Linked DNA regions of Homo sapiens: regions 1, 2 and 3 are each linked to region 4. Evidence: promoter capture Hi-C in 16 types of primary human blood cells and fetal thymus (Javierre and others, 2016). All regions are on one chromosome and are shown on one strand. The core of a region is centred on a gene start or on the middle of the fragment in contact, and the rest is flanking DNA. Distances in the headings are between cores, read along the strand shown. Region 1 has its middle 3.8 kb from the start of C12orf56. Region 2 has its middle 26 kb from the start of GNS. Region 3 overlaps LINC02389 (long intergenic non-protein coding RNA 2389). Region 4 holds the start of LLPH (LLP homolog, long-term synaptic facilitation factor).

What was found. Contacts are between HindIII fragments. The CHiCAGO score rates a contact against its expected background, and 5 or more counts as called.
Region 1: a contact is called between a fragment that was not itself captured here and the fragment with the promoter of LLPH in region 4, in 1 of 17 cell types (activated CD4 T cells). The highest score is 5.9, in activated CD4 T cells.
Region 2: a contact is called between a fragment that was not itself captured here and the fragment with the promoter of LLPH in region 4, in 1 of 17 cell types (activated CD4 T cells). The highest score is 7.9, in activated CD4 T cells.
Region 3: a contact is called between a fragment that was not itself captured here and the fragment with the promoter of LLPH in region 4, in 1 of 17 cell types (activated CD4 T cells). The highest score is 7.2, in activated CD4 T cells.

What each region holds. Positions count from the first base shown.
Region 1 is chr12:64,392,858-64,396,161 of GRCh38, forward strand. It overlaps the pseudogene RPS11P6. Among named protein-coding and RNA genes, the nearest start is that of C12orf56, 3.8 kb to the left of the region's middle. The HindIII fragment of the contact is 2,352 bases long and covers 787-3,138 here.
Region 2 is chr12:64,784,228-64,787,261 of GRCh38, forward strand. It overlaps a transcript of TBC1D30 not described here. Among named protein-coding and RNA genes, the nearest start is that of GNS, 26 kb to the left of the region's middle. The HindIII fragment of the contact is 624 bases long and covers 1,301-1,924 here.
Region 3 is chr12:64,884,501-64,887,615 of GRCh38, forward strand. The region is part of intron 1 of LINC02389 (long intergenic non-protein coding RNA 2389); the gene reads left to right. Among named protein-coding and RNA genes, the nearest start is that of LINC02389, 2.3 kb to the left of the region's middle. The HindIII fragment of the contact is 2,882 bases long and covers 263-3,115 here.
Region 4 is chr12:66,129,143-66,132,354 of GRCh38, forward strand. It overlaps LLPH (LLP homolog, long-term synaptic facilitation factor), which reads right to left and starts at 1,608. Exons shown (of 3, transcript NM_032338.4): 1 at 1,563-1,608. It overlaps LLPH-DT (LLPH divergent transcript), which reads left to right and starts at 1,609. Exons shown (of 2, transcript NR_125724.1): 1 at 1,609-1,833. RefSeq lists enhancers at 1,332-1,481, 1,522-1,631. The HindIII fragment of the contact is 2,232 bases long and covers 1-2,183 here.

The DNA.
Region 1 (3,304 bases), core at 713-3,212, 1.7 Mb before region 4:
CAAAAAAGACAGCATACTTGATATATCTGCCAAGAAGCCCATCTTGAATAAGCTTTTGGTGACAAGTGCACTAAGCTTAGCAAACATTAAAATGAAGCACAGGCTGGGTGTGGTGGCTCATGCCTGTAATCCCAGCACTTTGGGAGGCCGAGGCGGGTAGATCAGTTGAGGTCAGGAGTTTGAGACCAACCTGGCCAACATGGTGAAACCCCATCTCTACTAAAATTACAAAAAATTAGTTGGGTGTGGTAACACATGCCTGTAATCCTGGCTACTCGGGAGGCTGAGGCAGGAGAATTGCTTGAACCCGGGAGGTGGAGGTTGCAGTGAGCTGAGATTGCCCTACTCCACTCTGGCCTGGGCAACAGAGCAAGACTCTGTATCTAAAATTAAAAAATAAATAAATAAATAAAATGAAGCACAGAAAGAAGGGAATTTGACTGGGAGATTGGTGATCAAGGTGACTTCAGTTAAACTTTTAACTTCGTGGCACACAGAGAAGGCAATACAATGGTTTCCAGGCACTGTACAGCAGTGTTGCCAAGGTAACAGCAAAATTTCTATTGCAGGAAATGGATTTAAATATATAGGAAAGATCACTAGATTTGGAGTCAGGAGAACTAGATAAGGGCACTAACTCTGTTATCTATCAGACTTTTGGAAAGTCACAACCTTTCCGAGCCTCAGTTTCATCATCTATAAAATGTGAGGATCAAATGTGATGAATTATAGACTCTATGAGCACTACAGACATATGAAGCATTCACATTCCCTTATCTTTTGGTAAGCTTTACATCAATCCATGGCCCATAGGCCACCTGCAGCCCAGGAAGGCTTTAAATGTGGCCCAACACAAATTCATAAATGTCTTAAAACATTATGAGATTTTTTTGCGATTTTTTTTTTTTTTTTTAGCTCATCAGCTATCATTAGTGTTAGTATATTTTATATGTGGCCCAAGACAATTCTTCTTCTTCCAATGTGGCCCAGGGAAGTCAAAAGCCTGGATACCCCTGTTTTACATGGTTAACCCAAATGCACCAAAGATAGGTACCCCCTCCTTATCTTGTAAGTTCATCCAAACTCAAGAAACATTTGGCAAAGGAACTCCTGCAATCAAGCACTTAATAGATGTTTCTTGACAAAATTATCAAAAGGAATGGGACATTACTTACCTGGACTAATCCTCAAATGCAGTCTCCTTGAATTTCATCAGAACAGTGGTCTTAGGTACAGGGATGGTCAATTTAAATAATTCGAAGCACAGTAGTTATGAGCATAGAACTGTAGAGCCAGATGACCTGGGTTCAAATTCCAGCTCTCCTATTCAGTAGCTGAATGACCTATGCCTCAGTTTCCCCATCTATGAAATGGAGATAATAGTACCAACCCCCAAAGGGTTATTACGAGGATTTAAAAAGTTTCAATAGTACCTAGAACAGGAACCTGGACTGGAGTAAATACTATATAAGCGTCTAAAGAACAAGTTGACTGGGCATGGTGGCTCACACCTGTAATCCCGGCACTCTGGGAGGCCCAGGTGGGTGGATCACATGAGGTCAGGAGTCCGAGACCAGCCTGGACAGCATGGTGAAACCCCATCTCTACCAAAAAATACAAAAATTAGCCAGCGTGGTGGCGGGCACCTGTAGTCCCAGCTACCTGGGAGGCTGAGGCACAAGAATCACTTGAACCCGGGAGGCAGAGGTTGCAGTGAGCCAAGATGGCACCACTGCACTCCAGCCTGGGCAACAGAGTGAGACTCTGTCTTAAAAAATAAAGAAAGAAAGAAAGAATAAGTTCAACAAGTATGTGATTTCCTGTTACATATGTGGTCGTTCTGCTCCCTATCTACAAGGTAATATTAAATTCTTCTGATTGGATACAAGTCTAACTTTCTGAGATTGACCCAAGGCAAATTTTACCTTTTTTGGGTCACATTTTTAGTGGAGAAGAGACCAGCAGGTTAGGCCATGAGAACCATGTAAGGATTCCAAACTAGAAGTACTCTTCAATGCTTCTAGGGATCCCAAGTATTCCCATTCCCCCCACTTGAAACTAAAGACAGACAGTACACACAGTAAGATATTTAGAATATGTGGCCTATAAATAGAACCTGACCTTTTTTTTTTTTTCTTGAGAAGGAGTTTCACTCTATCACCCAGGCTGGAGTGCAGTGGCGCAATCTCGGCTCACTGCAACCTCCACCTCCCGGGTTCAAGCAATTCTCCTGCCTCAGCCTCCCAAGTAGCTGGGATTACAGGCATGCACCACCATGCCCGGCTAATTTTGTATTTTTAGTAGAGACGGGGTTTCTCCATGTTGAGGCTGGTCTCGAACTCCTGACCTCAGGTGATCCGCCTGCCTTAGCCTCCCAAAGTGCTGGGATTACAGGCATGAGCCGCCACACCCAGCCCTAAACCTGACTTTTTAAAGGTGTCTCATTTAGGAATCTCTTAGTGCTTCAACTTAGTTGTTTTTTTTGTTGTTGTTGTTGTTGCTTGTTTTTTGTTGTTGTTGTTTTTGTTTTGTTTTGTTTTGTTTGAGACAGAGTTTCGCTCTTGTTGCCCAGGCTGGAGTGCAATGGTGCGATCTTGGCTCACTGCAACCTCTGGCTCACCGCAACCTCTGCCTCCCAGGTTCAAGCAATTCTCCTACCTCAGCCGCACAAGTAGCTGGGATTACAAGCATGCACCACCACACCTAGCTAATTTTTGTATTTTTAGTAGAGACAAGGTTTCTCCATGTTGGTCAGGCTGGTCTTGAACTCCCCACCTCAGGTGATCCACCTGCCTTGGCCCCCAAAGTGCTAGGATTACAGGCGTGAGCCACCGCGCCCAGCCCTATACTTATTATTAATGGATACTGATCATTTAAATATCTACTATTAGTAATCTACTATTAGTAATTAGATGACATACAAAGGAAAGATGTCATTGTTATAAAAACCAGACAAATGATTTGGATTAATGTTTTCTTTCACTGAATAATACTCCAATGCTCTATTTTGCCTCTCAGGCTTCCTGCTGCACATGTACTTCCTGTAAGAGGAACTAATGGTTGGAATAGGACCAATAAAGGCAGCATTCCTGACCTGTTTTCCAACTTCTTTCTCTGCCAAGAAGCCCATTATGCATAAGCTTTTAGTGACAATGACATTCGGCTTTAAGAACAATGAGATGAAACACACAGAGAATCTGACACAGAACTCAGCAGCTATCAGCTCGTAATTATGTTCTTTTTGGTTCAACTCAATACATTTCACAAATATTTACTGAGAAATATTTATTAGCCATAAACAGAA
Region 2 (3,034 bases), core at 363-2,862, 1.3 Mb before region 4:
AGCATAATCCTGTATGCTAGGCATAATTTGAGACTTGGAGCACACTTCCTTGCCTAAAAATCACTCAGAGAGTTGGCTGATCCAAAAGCAGTCCTTTTTAACTCAGGGCCAAATGCATTTTCCATGGTGAGGTCAGGTTTGAGAACCCTGCATTTGTTTGTTACAGACCCCAAAAGTTGACTTTGATCTCTAGAGTGCATTTCTACTTTTGAGCATTTATTTTCTTCTCTTCTGATTCTCTTTAGTTTCTCCATATCCCTTTAAAAATGAGTAGATCCAAACCCCACAGAGAACCTCTAATGGGGGGCTAGCTAAGGTTAAGTTGAGTGGAAGGCTTTGCCTGCCTACTAGATCATGCTCTAGTGACTAATCATATCAAATGTGACCAAAAAAAACCTCCTCCCAAATCGTAATGATCATTTATATAAAGACAGTAGACAATTCTGGTTCCCAAATTTGTTTTGACCTATAGAAAAACTGCTGTTAAGGGGAGGGAGAGCATTAGAACAAATACCTAATGCATGTGGGGCTTAAAACCTAGGTGATGGGTTGATGGGTGCAGCAAACCACCATGGCACATGTATACCTGTAACAAACCTGCATACTCTGCACATGTATCCTGGAACTTAAAGTAAAATAAAGTAAAAAAAAAAAAACTGCTGTTGTGAATATTAGTTTTATGAATGTAGAATTATTGTAATTTATCTGTGTAAAGGAAATTTATTTTCTACCATATTTGAAAAATTGCTGAGGCTCTAAGATGAAATATTGTACCTCTAAGACAAAATGTTTTTAGGCTATTGGAAGACTGGATATTCAAAACAAAATCAGTATTGCCACATTCATCTACATTACAAAATGTGGTAAAATTATTTACTTTTAGCTCATCATTTGTAAACATAGATGAGTACTTTAAAGACTTTTTTTTTTTTTTTTTCTTTGAGACGGAGTTTCGCTCTTGTTGCCCAGGCTGGAGTGCAATGGCGCGATCTTGGCTCACTGCAGCCTCCTCCTCTCGGGTTCAAGCAATTCTGCCTCAGCTTCTGGAGTAGCTGGGATTACAGGCATGTGCCACCACTCCCAGTTAATTTTGTATTTTTAGTAGAGATGGGGTTTCTCCATGTTGGTCAGGCTGGTCTCCAACTCCTGACCTCAGGTAATCTGCCCTCCTTGGCCTCCCAAAGTGCTGGGATTACAGGTGTGAGCCACCACGCCTGGCCTTTAAAGACTTTTTTTTTTTTTTAATTAGCTGTTAGGTTTATTATTAATGTAACAGACTAAAAAAGATTCTTTTCTAGCAAGCTTACCATCTGAACACTTCAGTGGTACAAAATATACATGCCAGTTTTCAGGCAATGAAAAGTAAATTTGCAGCCAGAGCTAGATATGGTAAAAGTAGGAGTTTTTGCTCCATGTTACAGATAGGCTTAAGGATAAATTTACCTTACAGTATCTGTCTCATGGACAGGGCAGATAAATGAGTGACTTATTTGATCGGAATGTCCGAGCTGAATGCATACATGTAATCTTGAGTGAAAACCTAGAATTAGTTGGTTTAAATGGATGTTCTATTTATCTTTGGACTAATATCACACTGGAATTTGTATTCCTCTCAAGGTATTAATCGTTATTCTTATTTTTCTTTACTGATAGACGCTAATGAACTGAAGACGATCCTTCGAGAGCTAAAGTACAGAATTGGCATCCAGTCGGCCAAGTTACTTCGGCATCTGAAGCAGAAAGATAGGCTTCTGCATAAAGTGCAGAGGAACTGTGATATTGTGACTGCCTGCTTGCAGGCTGTGTCACAGAAGAGAAGTAAGTACTGGAATTGGGTTACTTCTTTTGCCACATGCAACTAGAATGTTAGGAAAGCTGAGCCAACAGTCTGTGTTTGTGAATATATTGAGAAGTTTTAAATGCAAGCTTATACCCTCAGAACTAAGAACAAGGAACAACTCAGACAGTTTCCTATTTTTCAGTTAAAATGTATACTTCATGTCTAATGTTACAACCTTAGATTTATTATTCTAGATTTGAAGTAGTACTTTACTTTGACAATAATTTTACCTAATGCTGAATGATGATTACAATTTTATTTTATTTATTTATTTATTTATTTGAAACAGAGTCTCACTCCGTCACCCAGGCTGGAGTGCAGTGGCGTAATCTTGGCTGAATACAACCTCCGCCTCCCAGGTTCAGGCAATTCTCCTGTCTAAGCCTCCTGAGTAGCTGGAACTACAGGCGCCCGCCACCAGGCCTGGCTAATTTTTGTATTTTTAGTAGAGACGAGGTTTCACCTTGCTGGTCAGGCTGGTCAGGCTGATCTCAAACTCCTGATCTCAGGTGATTCACCCTTCTTGGCCTCCCAAAGTGCTGGGATTACAGGCGTGAGCCCCTGCGCCTGGACAAATTTTTATTTTTAAAACAGCATCACTGGCTGGGTGTGGTGGCTCACACCTATAATCCCAGCACTTTTGGAGGCCGAGGCTGGTGGATCACCTGAGGTCAGGTGTTTGAGACCAGCCTGGCCAACATGGTGAAACCCCATCTCTACTAAAAATTAGCTGGTCGTGGTGGCTGGCACCTGTAGTCCCAGCTACTCAGGAGGTTGAGGCAGGAGAATCACTTGAACCTGGGAGGCAGAGGTTGCAGTGAACCGAGATCGCACCATTGCACTCCAGCCTGGGCGACAAGAGCGAAACTCCATCTCAAAAAAAAAATAAATAAATAAAAATAAAAATAAATAAATAAAACAGCATCACACAGACATAACCTAAAAGGCATGTCCTTTTTCTCTTATTCTGTGTTGCTACAGTAAGTGAATTAAATAATTGATTTAAAGAAATCGATTCTTGTAACAGGACCTTAACAACTTGCTCTGAAATCTGAAGATGGCAACATAGTTTAGCAAATGTAACCTATCTCTTGCATAATCATAACTAAGAGCTGTGTGGGAGCTGTGTGGTTTGTTAATCAATTAAAAATAAATTGTTAAATTGCTGATACACATTAAATACTAGGTATAAAA
Region 3 (3,115 bases), core at 454-2,953, 1.2 Mb before region 4:
AAGTGTGAAACAAATTACAGAATCATGATATTATTTAATAAAAAGTGGTTATATCACAATAATAAACATTACTAATGGCAATCCTAGGCATCATGTAGCTCAATGATTTTCAAAGGTTTTTAAGGAGCAGAACATTATAAAATTATTGTTTAGACTTGTACTTTAAGTAGATAATATTTGCACAAGGTGAAAATTTAACATGTACGAAAAAGCACATAGGAAAACTAGGTCTCCCTCCACCCCTTGTCCCCTATCCACTCAAAGCTTCTACCCACAGGAAACCGATGTTACTCCTTTCTTTTGTATCCTTTCAGAGATGTTTTATGCATATTCAAGCACATTCTCACACACACACTTTCGTAAGCAGTAACACAATAACCTTCTGAACTTTCCTTTTTCACTATGTACCATGGAGATTGTTCCAGAACAGTGCAAGTAGAGCCACCTCGTTCTTTTTTACTGCTGCATAGATTTCCATTTCAGGTCTGTGCACAATACATTTATTCTCTAATCTATTATTAGATTATTTGTTTGCTTCCAATTTCATATCTATGGAATATGCATATCCTTGTACATATGATGTAATATTGCTAATAAGGAAGTTAGCTAAAGAATAAATTCTAAGACATGGAATTACTTGTCAACAATGCACATTTAAAATTTTGATACATGTTGCCAAATTGCTCTCCACAGATGTTCCATAAGTTTCTGCTTCCATCAGCAATGTAAGGAAGTGCCCAATTCCTCCTACCCCCACATTACTGAGAATCTTATCAAATTTTTTGATCTTTTCTGATTGGGTGAGTACTTAATGTATGTTTGAAAAATATGCATAAGGTTGACATATATTTAAAAGTTATTTATATGTCCTTTGTTCATAGGCTTTGCTCATTCTTGCTGTTTTTTTTCTTACTGGTTTTTTTTTTTTTTTTTTTGAGATGGAGTCTCACTCTGTTGCCCAGGCTGGAGTGCAGTGGTGCGATCTCGGCTCACTGCAAGCTCCGCCTCCCGGGTTCATGCCATTCTCCTGCCTCAGCCTCCCGTGTAGCTGGGACTACAGGTGCCCGCCACCACGCCTGGCTAATTTTTGTATTTTTTTTTTAGTAGAGATGGGGGTTTCACCATGTTAGCCAGGATGGTCTTGATCTCCTGACCTCGTGATCAGCCTGCCTCGGCCTCCCAGAGTGCTGGGATTAGAGGCATGAGCCACCACACCCAGCCTTTTTCTTACTGATTTGTGAGTTTTTTATGCGTTAAGAAAAACATCCTTGTCTGTAATCTGTGTCACAATATTTTTCTCATTTTGTCAATTATCTTTTGACTTTGTTCATGCTGATTTACTGACATGTATATAGATTTAAGGTCATTTTTATTTGGTCATATCTATTAATCTTTTCTATTATAGCTTCTGGGTTTTGTGTGATGTTTGGAAAGGCTCTCTCTACTTCTTTGTGGTTAAAGTTCTTTAATTTTTTCCTTCTACTAGTTTTATGGTTTCATTTTTTATGTTTAAATCTGACTCATTTGGAATTTACTTTTGTGTAAGTTGGGAACTAAGGTTCCATCTTAACATTTATTTTTTCCAAATAGTTACCTAGTGGTGCCGGCACCATTTATTAATCTTTCCCCTATTGATTAAAAATGCCACCTTTATAATCACATACTAAATCCCTGTATGTTTTAGGGTGAATATCTGGACTTTTGGAGTACAACTGAACCACTACCCTCATTCAGGTGGGGGCAGAGAGGCCAGAGCTCTGCACACTGGTTTCCTCTCTGGTTGCCAGCATTACCCCTGAAGTTGCTTTGGGGGAGATCTTGGGGTTCTGGGGAACAGAGTTTGGAAACTACCAGTCTGGACCACTCTTTTTTTTCACTGATGAAAATCTGTAGCTCGGTGTAATTAAGTGACTTAAAATAACATTCTGACATTGGCAAGTTGCCATATGTTCCCAATCCCCTAACCCCCACCATGTGCATGGAGTATATCATTGGTGTAGGAGGCTCACTGATATGAGAATCACAGGAGAGCCCACAGCTGCTGTTAGGGACTGCTATAGTGTCAGAAGGCCTCATCCATGTATTTGGGGGAAAGAATGTTCCAGAAAGAGGAAACAGCAAGTACAAAGTTTCTGAGCTACATATGTAGAGAGATATAGGTATAGGTATAGAAATAGTATAGATAATTTAGAAAGACAGAGATAGAGACAGACCTAGAGATTAGAATGTGCTTCAGCTAAGAATAGGACCATTTTTACTTAGCATGCTGTTCATAGTAATAAGTTGCTGTTATAATTTTCACAGCCAAAAATCCATACATGATGTTATTTGTATTGTTTATGTTGTTTTATATATTATTTTTATTTATGCTTATATTTTCACAGCCCTCCTAAATTGAGTGGAATGATTGCAAAGTGTTTCCAATAAATGAGGATACTCCACCCCTTACCCTCCAAAAGTCTTCTCTTCAATTTGGGTTTGGTGCCAGCAATTTAGTCTTGACTGATACAATAACATTTCAAATTTCTAGAAATAGTTGGGGGAGGGGAAGACTAGCCTGTGTTGTAGAGCTTTGAAGAGATAAAAATAGCTTTGCACCTGATGCCTCTCCCTGAGAAAGTAGTCAGCCCCAGAGAGTCCCAGTTCCACCTTCTTTTGAAATTATCTTAGAGGTAACCAATGGATCCCCTCCAGGAGGGACTGTCCATCCCCACCAGGTGCAGAGAATGAACCACTCCTTAAGTTTGCCTGGTAAATGGTTTGGAGTGTCACTGCTAGACATGGTGGCTGTGATGTCACTACTGTGTGTATCTTGAAAGGTCAATAAAGAATGAGTAAAACATTTGAAGAGGTTCTTATTCAACAACAATATTTGTTTAAAGGCTTGCCAAAAACACAAAACAAAGCCTTAAACCCCAAACCTTTAATAGTATAAAAATAACAAGGCTTAAGTCATAAACATTGGATTTCCAGAATTTAAAAAGATAATTTTTGAAAAAGGAATTACATCAAGAAAATTTTTTTTGAATTGACTGTCTTCTAAAACAAATTAAAAAAACAAAAACAAGAAAAGCAATTAAAAAAAACAGTTGCTAATGTTCAATCCGGAGAAATG
Region 4 (3,212 bases), core at 358-2,857:
GCAAATCTTTAATATAAAAAAGAAAACAGGCAAATCCTTAGAAAACCAGGCCAACAGGTATCTCTACAAAACAAGTGAAAAGTAAAACTCTTCAATCTGTTCACTTTTTAGGACTTAACATGCAACTTATATGAAGATCAACATGGTACATACACAGTCACTAAATAACAAGATATCAAATCAAACTTGTGGTCATAAGCAAACTACAAATCAAACCAATTCTGAAAGCACCTTGCATGTCTTTTTTCTTTTTTTTTTTTTGAGACAGAGTCTTGTTCTGTGTCCCAGGCTGGAGTGCAGTGGCGCGATCTCAGCTCACTGCAACCTCCACCTCTCAGGTTCACGCCATTCTCCTGCCTCAGCCTCCCGAGCAGCTGGGACTACAGGCGCCCGCCACCACGCCTGGCTAATTTTTTGTATTTTTAGTAGAGACGGGTTTTCACCGTGTTAGCCAGGATAGTCTCGATCTCCTGACATTGTGATCCGCCCGCCTCGGCCTCCCAAAGTGCTGGGATTACAGGCTTGAGCCACCGCGCCCGGCTGAATTTCTTTACAAAATACAGAAATTTAATTTCCCCAGAATGCAACAGCGTCATCACCTTACATTTATGCAACAGCTTACAAATTACAAATGATTTTTATAAACACTTCACCTCATCTTCATTATCCATCCTCTCAAGCCAACTTAACGACTGTAAACTTATCTATTCCTACTCTTGTTTTCTTTCCACTCAGTTCCGCCCTAAATCCTCCACAAGGTGCTCAGTGTGATCTTTTAAAAAAGCATTCACTGCCTTTCTTCGAGTTCTTTAAAGACCTCCTCCCTCATATATATTCAAGATCTACAAGGTCATTTGTGATCTGTCCCCTGCCTCCTTCAACTCTATTTCATTTCATTCTCCATCCCCATCCCCGCAGGCACCAACTACGTCTGTAAAGAGTCCAAACTATCTCTACGTCAGTGCCTTCATATTTGCTGTCCCTATGCCTGGCAACTGCTCTTCTCAAGGCTTGCTCCTTCATTCGCTACCTCAGAAAGGACTCCTCTGACCTCCGTAAGCTCCCTTCCCTGCTTATTAAGTGTTACAACCTGAAACCATTGTTTTCTGTCACGCCCCCCGACCCTCTCCCCAGACTGTAGACTCCACGAAGGTAGAGGGAAAGGTCTTGTTCACTGCTGAATCGCACACTTTTTGCATACTTGTTGAACGAACCACTAACATTTTTTGAACGCCGGCAATCACAGTCATTCCGCTCCCTTGTCTACATAACTCAACCCTTGCGAGGGGCTAGGAAAGCGGGCGGCAAACAACCTTGAGGGCCGAAGTTAACTTCAGCGGGAGTGAACGACAGGGGTGGGCTCCACTTTATCCAGTGCACTCGGAAGCCGGAGGGCCCCCACCAAAAAGAGCAAGGGGAACCCTCGCCCTCAACAAGGCCTGCATCTCCGGACTGGAGCTCAAGTATAGCCCAGCGAGTGTCAAGAAACGAAATTCTCCAAGGGTGGCGGAATCAAGCCCCAAGTCCCATGTGTCACTGGACCGGTGAGGAACCGAACTCACCTGAGAAACGAACACCCACACCTCACGCTCACGCCGACCGGAAGTCTTTGCACTTCCGTCTTCCGGGCGGAGGCCACCCGGGGCGGACGCATTGCACGCCGGGAGACAAAATGTCTCAAGAAGCCTTGAGAGGCGGGATTTTGGAACCCGGGCGCTGACGAGCTTCCGCCATTGGTGTGATCGCGGACCTAGAAACTTGGTCCGTCCCATACAGGTGTAGAAGTCGGATTTGGAGAATGCTGACGGGTGTCCGGTCAAGGTTAGGCCCCAGGTAGGTCCGCTTTCCGGACGTGGGCAGGGTAGCCCCGAGACTAACCTATGGAGTGAACCTGGCCAGGGGACCCTACTTGTCAGATAGGGAGCTCCGAGCCGACCTTTAGATCTGACCTCAGCGTTTACATGATACTCATGTATTTCCTTAGATCAAGTCAGCCTAGATCAGGTGTTCTTCCAGAGGCCGTATTGAGATCATTTTTATTTGCAGCCTGTGCATTTTCTCATCTCGGGTGATGGCCTCACAGATGTACACATATGTAAAACCGTATCAAACTGCACACTTTAAATATGTGCAACTTATTGCATGTCAGTTATACTCAAAGCGGTTACCAAAAACAGAAAACAAGCTTTTCCTACCCCAGAGAAGAATTTAAAGGGTAAAATGATCAAAGGATTTCAGTTCTATCAATGTTTACCTGTCTGATCACTTACGTATCAGACACAATGCTAAGCCTAGGACGATTGTCTTAGCTCACGAATAACACTTACTGTACAACTATTTCTACTGGCATAGGCTTTGGAACCATATAGGTCTGTGTTGTACTCTTGCTTCCAACACTTGTGAACGATATGGGTGAGTAATTAATGTCATAAGGGCCTGAATTTCCTTGTCCCTAAAGTGAACATAATACAACCTAATTGATGCTGTAAGAGTTCAACAAATGGTACCCTTTTTACATTATAGTTTCAAAAGTATAGCTACACAGTACTATTTGTAAGCAATGTTTCTAGAGATTTACGACATATACCCAAAAAACATGTCTTTAATGATGGCCTGGTAAACTCCTGCTGGTTGCCAGAAAAAGGGGTTCTGAGGCAATCTATGGGTACCTTTTTTCTTTAAATTTGTGTCCTTTATGAAACCATGCATAGTATGGAAATTACTGAATTCAGAATATAGCAAGGTTAAAGAGGCTGAAAAAAACCTAGAACATTTGATATAAAAAAAGGAAGCATGCCTAAGAAACCTGGTTTATTTAAATGAGATTTCGTTCTTATAAAGCAAGTGAATTTCTGTTTTACAAGTTAACCATATACTGTACCTCATCTTTCAAATGAGAAGTTAGCTACCTCACCCAAAAATATAAGTGCACATTGCATTTTAGAGAAAACTTATATTCTGATAGTCCATATTTACTGTATCTTGTTTAACATACCAGGACAAGACTTTTGAATAGGCACTTGGCACCAGAAAAAATAATTTACCTATTATGAAAATGTCATGTTGTTAAAATACCATGCCATGATTTAGCATTACAAGTGCTTTAAACAGCTGAGTAAAACACCCTTTTACTCCTTTTTACTTATGTCCCCTCACCAGTTATATAAAAGCAGTTCTAGAAAAGTGGCCTTAGTATATTTAAAAGTCTAATT